Linked DNA regions of Homo sapiens: region 1 is linked to region 2. The links are contacts of gene promoters, found by promoter capture Hi-C in human tissues and cell types (Jung and others, 2019). All regions are on one chromosome and are shown on one strand. Each heading gives the region's core, a stretch centred on a gene start or on the middle of the fragment in contact. The rest is flanking DNA. Distances are from core to core; before and after follow the strand shown.

Region 1 (5,865 bases), core at 2,806-5,305, 160 kb after region 2:
TATAGGTTTTCCCTATCCCCAGCATCTATATGTCCAGAAAGCTTAACTTTTATGAATGTCCTTTATGAAACAAATATACGTATATATGTAAATGACAAATAACCTATTAAAAATATGTTATCAAGTAGGTATAGACTCAGTATAATCTCTTAATTGCTATCTTTAAAATAATATGTAACAATTAATTTCTGAAACATTAAGCCTCTGAACCATTGAAAGTAATAAAATCTAAATTATGTTAGCATTTGATAATCCTTACAATTTGATAAATATTGCAAGGCTCACCTTTTTCTTTCTACAGACCCACACTGGAAAGGGAGATAGGATGGAAGTCATATATACATAAATAAATCATATGTGAATATTTTTTATTCTTAGAAAAATACACTGTCTGCAAAAATTAATAATACAACATTACAGTTACTAAATCAAGAAGTAACACATAAGCAAATAAACTTCAACTACATAACATGGCCACTTAATGGTAGTAGGAAATGATAGTAGGGAACTGCTGAAAGAGGTTAGAGAAAGAATAACAAAGAGAAATAAGAAAGGAGGGAGGGAGAGAGGAAAGGAAAGAGGGAGGTGGAGAGAGCAAAGAAAGAGAGGGAGAAAATAGAAAAAGATAAGTAAGAAAAACAAAAATGTCTTTTAAATCTAATGTTCTACTTATTAAAATGTTCACTATGTCTCCCAAAAGATTATTTCAGCTTGCTATTGATATTCATCTATAAGTTTGTTATTATTCGATTCTAAAATAGGAGACTGACTGCAAATTTGATCAATTAACAAATTGCTGCTATTATTAGTGCTAAAGTTTACACTATATACTATCTCAAATCCTAGAATAGTATAAAAATAAACATATTTTTACCTACAAAAAGAAAGTGACAAAAGTACAGTATGGGGACATAAGTATAGGAAGGAAATATTTGCAAGAAAGGATGAAAAATACTTTCAAAATTGTTACCACACTGTTATTTTTTTGGCCCATATATAAACTAATCATATATGCATTAGAAAAAAACTCTGATCTAACCAGAAATAAATTACTATACCAATGAAATGAAAGCTAAAATATCTTTTCAGATAGTCTTTATTCACAATAATTAAAATGGAAGCACCAAAACAGATACTTAACTGTACCATTACAAAATCACTCCCTTAGAAACAATTTTACTGCTTTTCTTTAACTTACACATTCCTTCCTCTCAGATATGAGAGTTCTGACTCTGTAAAACATTTGGTCCAGATAGTCAAGGTCTACATTTATTTTTCACAATTAGAGTTGCTCATAGGTTTTAAGTAAGACAGGTTTCTCTGATGCTCTGATTAAATTAAAATCTTAACTTTTTAATCTATTTTATTAAGCTATATCAATTAGAATATATTTTGTTAGAATATATTTAAGCAATCTGTACATTTACTTCTACCTAGCCCCAAGATCTAGGACAAGATCTAAAAAAGTATTTCTGTTAATGTTTAGATTATCATGATTCTCAAAACTGCTTGATAAGAAGAGAACAAAGATAATCAACAAAATCAAAAGTTTATTTTATAAATAAGCCATGCCTGAAAGTAGCAATGAAAAATAAATTGTCACATAAAATTATATTTACTTTTATTTCAAGTGTTTGAAATTTCCATTCTTTTTTTTTTTTTTTTTTTTTTTTTGAGACAGAAGTTCACTCTTTGTTGCCCAGGCTGGAGCACAGTGGTGTGATCTCGGCTAACTGCAACCTCTGCCTCCCCGGTTCAAGATTCTCCTGTCTCAGCCTCCCGAGTAGCTGGGATTACAGGTGCCTGCCACCATGCCCGGCTAATTTTTGTATTTTTAGAGAGATGGGATTTCACTATGTTGGCCAGGCTGGTCTCGAACTCCTGACCTCAGGTGATCCGCCCACCTCAGCCTCCCAAAGCACTGGGATTACAGGCGTGAGCCACCACGCCTGGCCTGAAATTTCCATTCATTTCTTTCAAAAAAATAAATTTAATACTTATCATAGGATACAGAATTATATAATGCTATTGACAAATAGCAAAATCACTACTCATCATTAGTTTTTATTTACTAAGTATCACATGACCTAAGGTAGTATTTGATAACTCCATGATAAAATCTATTTAGTGAGTTATTACTAGCATTTAAAAAAAAAAAGAAATATGATAAAAAATATCAGAGTGCAGTAAGAAAAACGTTTTCTGAAACTTTTGTTTCAGTAGTGTTTATGTTCATAAACATATACATGTGTTTATTTAGTCATGCTTTAAAAAGTATTTTTAATATGAAATACCACGATAAAGTAAATAAATATTATTATTATTGATATACCAATACTGGAAAGGGAAATAAGTTACTCTGGGAATCCTAAGTATATTAATAATGTTTTCTGTATAAGTTTAATGAAATTATTTTTAATGTAGCTAGTGTTCCTGCCCATTCCCTACCTCCAGTTTGTACGTTTACGTTCTAATCATAGTCTCAATTACCAGATTTCAAAGCCAGGTAAGTATAATTTTGTAAAGAAAACAATGGGATAAGGTTAAAGCCTAGACATTTCCTATTAATATACTCTTACCTGTTGGTAATCCTTTTCCTCGCAATCGATCTCGAATAGCCTGGCTTCGATCAGGCTTTTGTTCACTGTTACAGGAAAGCTGATCTGTCTGTACACAGGTAATAAAAAATCAAGTTTGACAAAAGGATCTCCCTTTTGTTTTCATGGTAACTGTTTACAGAATGACACTAGTTACACAGTTTTTGGAGGATGTAACATTAAATAATGAGACTCTATGTCCTATTGTATTTGTAGGGTAATTTGTATTCTTGGATAAGATTTATGTAGACCAGTGCTGGCCAATTCATTTCAGAAAATTAAAAGGGAAGAAGCAGTGACTGAAGAGTAACCTACTAACTAGAAAATACCATCAGATTAAACTTGTTAAAATGAGTTCTATTTGAAAACAGTAAACTTGAAGTCTTCTTTTTTCCCCAACCACTAACTACTCTTAAGTTAGTTTATAATTTAAAAACCACATTAATTTTGGTATAATAAAGCTTTCTCTTGATTATAACTATGAATTGAGGAATTTAAATTACTTTCAGAAATAATTTTATAGATCTTGCCCTTCAGAAATTACATTTGTGAAATGCTAAGTCTTTTTTTTTTTTTTTTTTTTTTAAATATAACGGAGTCTCACTCTGTCACCCAGGTTGGAGGACCTCGGTTCACTGCAACCTCTGCCTCCCAGGTTCAAGCGATTCTCATGCCTTAGCCTCCAGAGTAGCTGGGACTACTGGTGCATACCACCACACCAGCTAATTTTTGTATTTTAAGTAGAGACAGGGTTTCACCATGTTGGCCAGGCTGGTCTTGAACTCCTGACATCAAGTGATCTGCCTGCCTTGGCCTCCCAAAGTGCTGGGATTACAGGCGTGATCCACTATGCCTGGCCGAGAAATGCTAAGTCTTTAAATGGACGCTCTGAGGGATAACAAATTTAAATCAATGCTCTTTTAAGTTCCCTTTAAAACAAAATGTAATCTTAAAGTTTAATAGCTTTAGCAAAGGGTATCTGCTTGAAATAAAGTATGTCAAATTAGGTCAAACTCCACACTATAAGGGATAAAAAACTGGACAGACCACTGTTTTATTCAGGTGGCCAAATAGAGGAGAAATGTCAATATAAATGGAAGAAGAGAGAATGGTGAAGAGAAATTACTTAAATCTAGCACCAAAAGCATGCATACATATTTGTTTACACACACACAAACTCGCACATACCACAGAAATGTTTTAATATTGCTCCATTAGTGAATTTTGCTGAAGTATGGATTAAAAACCCATCTAAGGTGGTATATTCAAGGCTCAAGCATTATGTTTTCTACCTATAAGAAGACTTGTAAATGGAAGTATTTCTGAAATCATGTTATCAGTTAAGTTGCATAAATGATGTTAGTCCAGATTACACTGTACTGTCAGTGACTGAAAAGACAGTATTACTAACATCCCACATCTTTGAAAATTCCTGCATTGAAGTTAGTTACTATTAATAACTGTTGTTTATTGAACAGTTACTATATGCTAGGCACACACTTTGTGCTATTTAATCCTCAAACAACCTCATATGGTAGACAATATTATCCTCATATTATAAATAAAGGGAGAAATAGCAAAGAAACTTCTAAGGACCACAAAGCAGCTCATTAATGTGGAAATAACTACTTTTACAACAGTTTAATAATATGGATGATTGACACATATTATTATTATTCCTATTTTGCAGATAAGTAAAATTGTGGTCCAAATATTATAACATTAAATCAGTGGAAAAACCTAGACAAGTAAGCTGGCTTGCTGACTTTTACTCACGCTAATTAATGTTAAGTAAGAATGATGGTCACTCAGAATGAATTTCACACCAGTGAAAGACTAACTCATTCTGTCAGCTACTGGAGGCAACAAAAGCTTTAAGGAATATACTGGGGTCAAAAACACCCCAGTTCCAATTATGTCTCCATCATTTACCGTATCTGTGACTATGTGCAAGTTATTTAATCTTTCTTAGCCTTAGTTTTATGCCCTCTAAAATGAGGATAAAAGTATCTCTATTAAATTGAGGTTGTTATGATGAATAATGTGATAATGCACATCAACCCCTTAGCATAGTGTCTGGCACAAAGTAAACAAACACTTAAAAAACAGTAGCTGTTGGAGTTACTTCTACCCAGTGATGTCTAGGAGATGAGGAAGAGCAATAGAAAGGTAAGGGGAGCATTATTATACTTAGTAAAAATTTGTCTTTGTGAAGAGAGGCTCTCTACATGCTGATTCCAACTGATCCTTCTATTTTTCTCTCCCATTAAATAACCCCACAATACACCCCATGTCATACTGTTCCCCAAACATTCCTGCTTTCCCATTTCACAGCCTTTATCCAGGTTCACTTCCCTCTGCCGAGATTATCTAGCCTATAGGATACAGTTCGAAGTGCTATTTTTAATTTTAACTTTTTTTTTTTTTTTTGAGGTAGGGCCTTACTCTGTTGCCTAGGTTGGACTGCAGTGGTGCAATCATGCCTCACTACAGCCTCGACCTCCCAGGCTCAAGTAGTCCTCCCATCTCAGCCTCCTGAGTAGCTGGGACTAAAGGCATGCATCACCATGCTCAGCTTCAAAGTGCTATTTTTCAATGCAGTCATAATTTGTATCCTTTTCCTTTAAACTCTCATAGCTGTTAAAATTTTTACTATGTATCATTTTATAGCCTTCTTTCATTTTATAATTAAGCAAATGGTTATGGCATTTTAGATAAGAGCTCCTAGATCAAATATTTTATTCAAATTTGTATCTTCTATAATCCCTAGCACAGGTTTCATACATAAATGAACAATAAAGATCCACTATAATAAAGAGAACTAAATGCTAAACCTTAAAGGGATGAAGATTTTATATGTAATATGGGCAATTATTAGATAGGTAATATAATTTCTATGGTGACAGAAAAAAAATTCTTCATTCAAAGACAGAAAAAAATATCTCTCACAATTTTACTATAGGAGTAAAATTAGCAAGCAGCACAAAAGTCTTAGAGAAAGTGTGGTGTAATAAAAAAGTCCCTGGACTGTCTAATAGGAAACTCAAATCCCATAGTTGTTTGGGTATCAGTTTCCTTATCCATAAAGTGAAGTTTTAAAGAATATTAGTCTTATGAGAATGTCTGAAAAAAAGACCTCCAAGACCAAGAAAGTTTGGGAAATGCTTTATTTACATGCCTATTCTTCTTGAAGGTTAGTAATATAGTCTAGTATATTAAAGGTTCTAAGAAGTTCTCCAGTGAAAATACATTTAATTTCCTTTAAATA
Region 2 (6,832 bases), core at 3,038-5,537:
ACCTCAGGTGATCCTCCCACCTCAGCCTCCTAAAGTGCTGGGATTACAGGTGTGAGCCACCACGCCTGGCTGTTTTCTGCTGCTATAACAGAGTACCACGGACAAAGTAATTTATAAAGAAAAGATATTTATTTCGTTCATTGTTCTGGAGGCTGGGAAGCCCAAAATCATGGGCTTCCCAAAGGGTCACATCTGGCCAGGGCCTTCTTGCTGCATCGTAACATGTCAGAAGGCATCACATGGCATTCCCACTATAACGAACCCATTCTTCCCCACTATAACAGCATTCATCTATCCAGAGCCCTCATGACCTAATTACCTCTTAAAGGGCCCACTTCTCAACATTGTTAAAATGACAATTAAATGTCAACATGAGTTTTGGAAGGGACACTACAACCATGGAAGATGTTGATCACTTTTTTTCAAGTATTTTGTCTTTTTTTCTGGGAAGTGATAGTGTTTTTATTGTTGAGTTAAAAAAATACTGAATTTGGCTTTTTACCTTGTGTCATGTCTGAGTAAACAGTCTACTTTTTCCATTACTGCCAATTTCCTTTATATCTGTTTTGGATTTATCTCTCATGAATTTACGTAAACTCTTTTTGAACCTATAGGATTTTTCTGTCTTTCAAGCTTCTAGAAGTTTTACCCTGTGCTGCCTTTCAGAGCGTGGGAAACAGTTCCACAGCCAAGTCTGGTTACCTTTTCTTTTGGCACTTTCCCCTCAGACTTTACATTCCCAGCCTTTTCTGTTGGTTTTCCTGAGGAGTATCTTTCACCCCAAATTCTACTTACAGAGGCTGGAAGTACATGAAATACTTCCTGTGATTTGTAGAACTGGATCTCAAAATGAAGGTGCATACATATTGAACATATGTAGATGCCTTTTGAGTGTGTGAGAATAGAAGATAATGTTAGAGATTAGGGATTAGTTTATTTCTCCATCCTTAAGCCAAATAGTGGTGTTTTACCCCTGAGCTATGCCTAAGTGGTTGCCAGTCTTTTCCGCATGGTCTTGCTCTTGACTGCTTTTCATTGCTTCCACTTCAGTGTGCTCCAGGGAAGGAAACGAGGACAGGTGGAGAATTAGATTGAGATTTAAATCCCAATGTTATAATTTACCTGCTTAATAATCTTCGACAAATAATATGGCCCCAATGGGCCTTTGTTACTTCCTAGAATAAATGTGAGGATTAAGTGGGATCTCATAATCTGCCTCACTGGCTTGGGATGTAAAGTTGGTCATGCTTTTTAAAATTTTCTAATTAATCATTTGAATCTCTACTTACCAATAAGGGCAGGAAGTCTGCGATCCTGTATTTGAAATCTTCTTTACAAATTGACCGAGAACCCTAAGTGCTTACTCTTCCCAGGAAAATCTCCTTCCCATCTCCACTGGGGAGAAACTTGGAAAAGCCTGACCAGCCCGCTGGTAGGCCCTGGGATCACTGCGGTTGTTTCTGTTGGGACCTTTTGATGCATTGGCCCCACCCAGTCCAGTGGGCCTTTATCCATTGCCACCCTGTCCCTTCCGGTCCAGTCCTGGCACACAACATGGCGGTGTCCAAGCCTGGGCTCTCAAGATGACTTCTCTTCAGGTCATATCCATATACTTAGTCATTGTGTCCTGTGGCATCTGTCCAGGGTGACTGGACACAGAGGAACCTGTCATCAGGCAAGAAACCCCTGTCTTTCCTGGTGTGTGTTAGGACCAGCTGACCTCAGTCGGAAACATCCTAATTCTTTTGAGAAATTCTGATAACACTACTTTTTTTTTTTTTTTTTTTTTTTGAGACGGAGTCTCGCTCTGTCGTGCAGGCTGCCAGGCTGAAGTTTGGTGGCATAATCTCCGCTCACTGCAAGCTCCACCTCCCTGGTTCATGCCATTCTGCCACCTCAGCCTCCTGAGTAGCTGGAATTACAGGTGCCCGCCACCACACCTGGCTAATTTTTTTGTATTTTTAGTAGAGAATGGGTTTCACCGTGTTAGCCAGGATGGTCTCGATCTCCTGACCTCGTGATCCACCTGCCTCAGCCTCCCAAAGTGCTGGGATTACAGGCATGAGACACTGCGCCCGGCCAACACTACATTTTAAAAGAGAAGTGGCCAAGGTCACCTTTCTCCCTCTCCCAGGAGGCTCCTTAAGGCTGCTATGCATATTTAGCCCCCTCCCCTCTATCAGCACTGAGTACCCAGCAATCACAAAAGTTCCCGTCACACCATTCTCATCAGAAATGGGGGTGCTTATACCATCCTTATCAGGAATGGAGGTGCTTATACAAAACTTAAATTTGTATAACTAAAAAGGGCGATTCAAGTGACTCTTCCTGGGAACAAAGAAGGTTGACACTTTGGGAGGCTGAGGCGGGCAGATCACGAGGTCAGGAGATCGAGACCATCCTGGCTAACACTGAAACCCCGTCTCTACTAAAAATACAAAAAATTAGCCAGGCATGGTGGTGGTCGCCTGTAGTCCCAGCTACTCAGAAGGCTGAGGCAGGAGAATGGCATGAACCCGGGAGGCAGAGCTTGCAGTCAGCCGAGATCGCGCCACTCCACTGCACTCCAGCCTGGGCGACAGTAGGAGACTCCATCTCAAAAAAAAAAAAAAAAAAAAAAAGAAGGTTGACTAAGGGGCTTTTGGACATTATCTAGGCAGACACCCCTGACCCCTTCTCTTGCTAAATAAGTAAATAAAGTTCTGCTTCACCAGACATAGCCACATATGTGTAAAGCACCTAGCCACCTGTATTGGTCTGTTTTTACGCTGCTAATAAAGACATACCCAAGACTGGGTAATTTATAAAGGAAAAAGGTTTAATTGACTCACAGTTCCACATGGCTGGGGAGGCCTCACAATCATGGCAGAGGGGGAAGGGGAAGCAAGACACGTTTTACATGGTGGCAGAAAAGGCAAGAGCGTGTGTAGGGGAACTCCCCTTTATCAAACCATCAGAACTTGAGAGACTTATTCACTATCATGAGAACAGCACGGGAGAAACCCGCCCCCATGATTCAATGACCTTCCACCAGGTTCTTCCCATGACACATGGGAATTATAAGAGCTATAATTCAAGATGAGATTTGGGTGCGGGGGAAACACAGCCAAACCATATCACCACCTCTGTCACCCCTGAGAAGTGCTCAGAAAATGTTAGCTGTCTCCCTCCTCCCTTCCTCCTCAGCCTGACCACACCTCTGCATCATTCAAGCTGGGAACACCTTGCCTTCCAGAGACCTTTCCCGTTCCTCAGTGTCCATTCTCTGCAGGGCTCTGCGTAAATACGCCCTGTGCTGACTGACCCCTTATACGCAACCTCCAGGGAGGCTGGATGGCCAGAGCTGCCTTCAGGGTTTGTTTGCCAAAGGCAGTTTATTCTTTCTTCAAATAGTTAGAATTTACTTCACATTTGAATCTAACTTGTATTTTTATACAGTCAGCATGTCCTGAGCATTCTGTCATGGAGAAGAATTTGCTCATCCATGAATAAACAATGCATAGCTAGTATCCCTCTTGAGACAGGTAGAGGCGTTTATGAAGTGTGCCTTGTTACTAGCCTGTGCCCCACAAATAAACTTTCTGCTGTGAGAAGGGGTGTGGCACCTGCTTTTTCAGAGGTTTAGTTTCACAGAACCATACAGTCCTTGGGTTTTGCCAGCAGTGCCTGCTTAGAATGCACAGAGGGGCCCTGGGCACTGTGGTCAGAGGCTGTCCTCAGACCCCATCTCCATTTCAGACCAAGCTCTTTACCACATCCCCTTGCAGGATTCCCAGATGTCCCTAGGAGGCCAGGGGTATGTATCTCAAAGTAGACTCTTATCTCCAAAAGCAAGTGAGAGCTCCCTTGAATTATTTTGGGTGAAGGAATTAGTTTTCACATGTTTCATGAGACATAATTAGGTGCCTAATACCATATTATTCTCACAGGTGTTTAATTATTGACTTTAGACACAAATTCTAATAGAACTAGAAGAAAAACTGAGACAAATTCTGAAGCTCCTTGAAATTATTCTTAGTCCCTCCTGACATTTCCTCCACCGGCGTTTTTTTTCTTTTTGCTCTATTTCCAGCAGACACGCTTTGCTAATGCTACAAGGTGTGGCTTTGGCTTTGTTGTTTTTTCCGGAGTTAGCTTTTCTGTCTGTGCATCCTGGCTCTTTGAAATCCCAACTGAATTTGGAGAAATTATTTCTTGGCATCCACCCTACTTTCCAGGGACACAATGTGATGCTGACGACATAGCCCGGTCACTCCACTTGACAACAAGTTTGTTTGTCTCATCTCACATACATATTCAGTGGTGAGTAAGAACAGAAGTGGAAAGCCTTACTTACCACAGTTTATTATATGTTTCATGCCTGTGATAATTACTTTTATAATGCCACTTGTGAAAAAATTGATCAGATTAGGATGAATCACCTTGCTGGCCAACAGTTATTGGAATGATTCTCCATGTGTGACTTCGTTGCACTATTACAAAATGTGGCAGGATAGACCTGCCCAGCCATTGTTGCCGATGTTCATTTGTAATGCTGCCTTAAGGAGATGAGGAGATGAGAGCCAATTGTTCCAGCAGCTCAGCCTGCCCTGCCAACAGTTCAGAGGAGGAGCTGCCAGTGGGACTGGAGGTGCATGGAAACCTGGAGCTCGTTTTCACAGTGGTGTCCACTGTGATGATGGGGCTGCTCATGTTCTCTTTGGGATGTTCCGTGGAGATCCGGAAGCTGTGGTCGCACATCAGGAGACCCTGGGGCATTGCTGTGGGACTGCTCTGCCAGTTTGGGCTCATGCCTTTTACAGCTTATCTCCTGGCCATTAGCTTTTCTCTGAAGCCAGTCCAAGCTATTGCTGTTCTCATCATGGGCTGCTGCCCGGGGGGCACCATCTCTAACATTTTCACCTTCTGGGTTGATGGAGATATGGATCTCAGGTAAGTAACCCCAGGGAAGCTCAGCAGTCTGTCTCTTATCCTGCCTAGGGGGAATAACTGAAACTCTTGTGTTAAACACTCTTCTAATCTTTTGGTAGAGATTCTAGTGGGAAATGTTACAAATATCACAGAGACTTGTTCAGCCATGGGTGGGCTTTCCTTTCAGTGCTCAAAAGTTACTTTGCTGATGATCATTTTCTTTATTGGCTACTGTTCTGAGCAGTGGGATGCGTTCTGAGCAGTGGAGGCAGGTCTGCACCTCACCCAGTGGCCCTTCCTAAGCTTGAGCTCATTCTTACCTACACTGGCCTCTTTAGCAACTCCTAGGACTTAAACCAAGAATCCCAAGAAGCTAACGATTGTGGTTTGGTAGCAGCCGTCGTGGTTGTGTCAGTGGCATAGTCAGAATGAGACTCCCGTAGCTCCAGTCAGTGATGCCTGAGCACCTACTTTAGGAAAGAAGCACTTTAGAGGACTGGATAAAGGAGCTTTAGGGGTGTCTGGTGGCCATATCCAGCTTTAAGTGCTGAGATGGCTTGTCGATTTGACTTCAGGAGCAATGCGAAGGCTCTCAGGACTAAAATTGTTCTTTCTTGTTGCTTTGCAGATCGTTAACATCATCACTAGATTCGCATTCCTTCCCTTTAAGCCAGTGACCTTATTCCCAATTATGGTGTAGATAAATACCTCTGGGAGACATTAAGCCTTGTCCCTTATTTACACTTTAATGAGGATGAATTAGTCACATGCTTTTCTGGATTACATGTTTTGATGGGGGAAAAAAAGAGCATTTGAGGAAAGAGTAGAGGGATAGCACTGGAAAAAGAGCTAAAAACAATGGTCTCTCGAGACTCTTTGCTTACTTGTGAACATGCCGTTTCACTTCCTGCCCTGGGGAAGAACTGCTTATAAATTTAAGTATTTGTTTCATGTGTATGTCATTTAGTTGAGATTCACTTTACCATGAATGAATGAATCAGAGGTAATGACTGAGCTGGGAGTTGACATCAGTGAGAGTCAGCTGCAGGTATGTGTTTCCAGTTTTCCGCTTGTGCTGAATGTTTAGCGTATGGAACATATTTCACCTATAAATTTTAATGGGCTCATACCATGCAGAATAGGAACTAACTTTCCCAAGGCAGTGTTTTTGTTTACCCACTTATGAGAGATTTGAAAAAAAAATAACTTGATGAATTTTGTGTTTTACCTTAATGGTAAAAGCCACTCATATACAAAGCCACTAATATACACTGCTTTTGTGTTTTACCTTAATGGTAAAAGCCATTAATATACATTGCTAATTCAAATTCAGTAAAGTTGATTATTTAACTGGGAAATGATAGATATTCTTTGCATGAAGTTCATAAATCAGAGATAAATTCCAGGACCTAAAAGTTTTTGGAAAGAAAAAGGAAACTAATATTTATTAAGTGCCCCATAGGCATGGGATAGATGCTTTCATGCTTATTTTCTTCTTGGGGCTCATAATAACCTTGTAAATGGCCTTTTATTGTTCTGAATTTTACAGCTGAGAAAATTGTGATTCAGATTGGTTAAGTAGCTTGCCAAATGCTACAAACCAGTATGGCAGAACTCAGATTTGAATTCTCATCTGTTTTACATCAGTCTGCAGTTTAGGCACATTTCCCCCATGGCATTTAGCAACACAACTAGATCTTCTGTTTTGAATAGCAGCATAAATCTTCAGTGTTCTCAAACACTTGTGTTCTGGGAAAGAGAACATTTATTACCTTAATCTCTTATTAGTCAATGTTGTCATAAAAACACCAATGAACAGGAAACCTATGAAAGATAAAGCTACTTTTACTTTCTTTTGCCAACTCTTATCTTTAATTCACCTTTAACTTTGTTCAAATTATTTAACCTATCTAAGCCTTAT

The links. The method cuts DNA at HindIII sites, captures the fragments that hold promoters and counts their contacts. A contact is called where the count stands out against the background at its distance.
Region 1: a fragment that was not itself captured here is called in contact with the fragment with the promoter of SLC10A6 in region 2 in 2 of the 25 tissues and cell types used here (dorsolateral prefrontal cortex and pancreas).

The regions. Positions count from the first base shown.
Region 1 is chr4:86,690,389-86,696,253 of GRCh38, reverse strand. It overlaps PTPN13 (protein tyrosine phosphatase non-receptor type 13), which reads right to left. Exons shown (of 48, transcript NM_080683.3): 6 at 2,580-2,667. Among named protein-coding and RNA genes, the nearest start is that of PTPN13, 99 kb to the right of the region's middle. The HindIII fragment of the contact is 5,009 bases long and covers 1,551-5,865 here.
Region 2 is chr4:86,846,839-86,853,670 of GRCh38, reverse strand. It overlaps SLC10A6 (solute carrier family 10 member 6), which reads left to right and starts at 4,287. Exons shown (of 6, transcript NM_197965.3): 1 at 4,287-4,932. The coding sequence starts at 4,556. The HindIII fragment of the contact is 7,017 bases long and covers 1-6,317 here.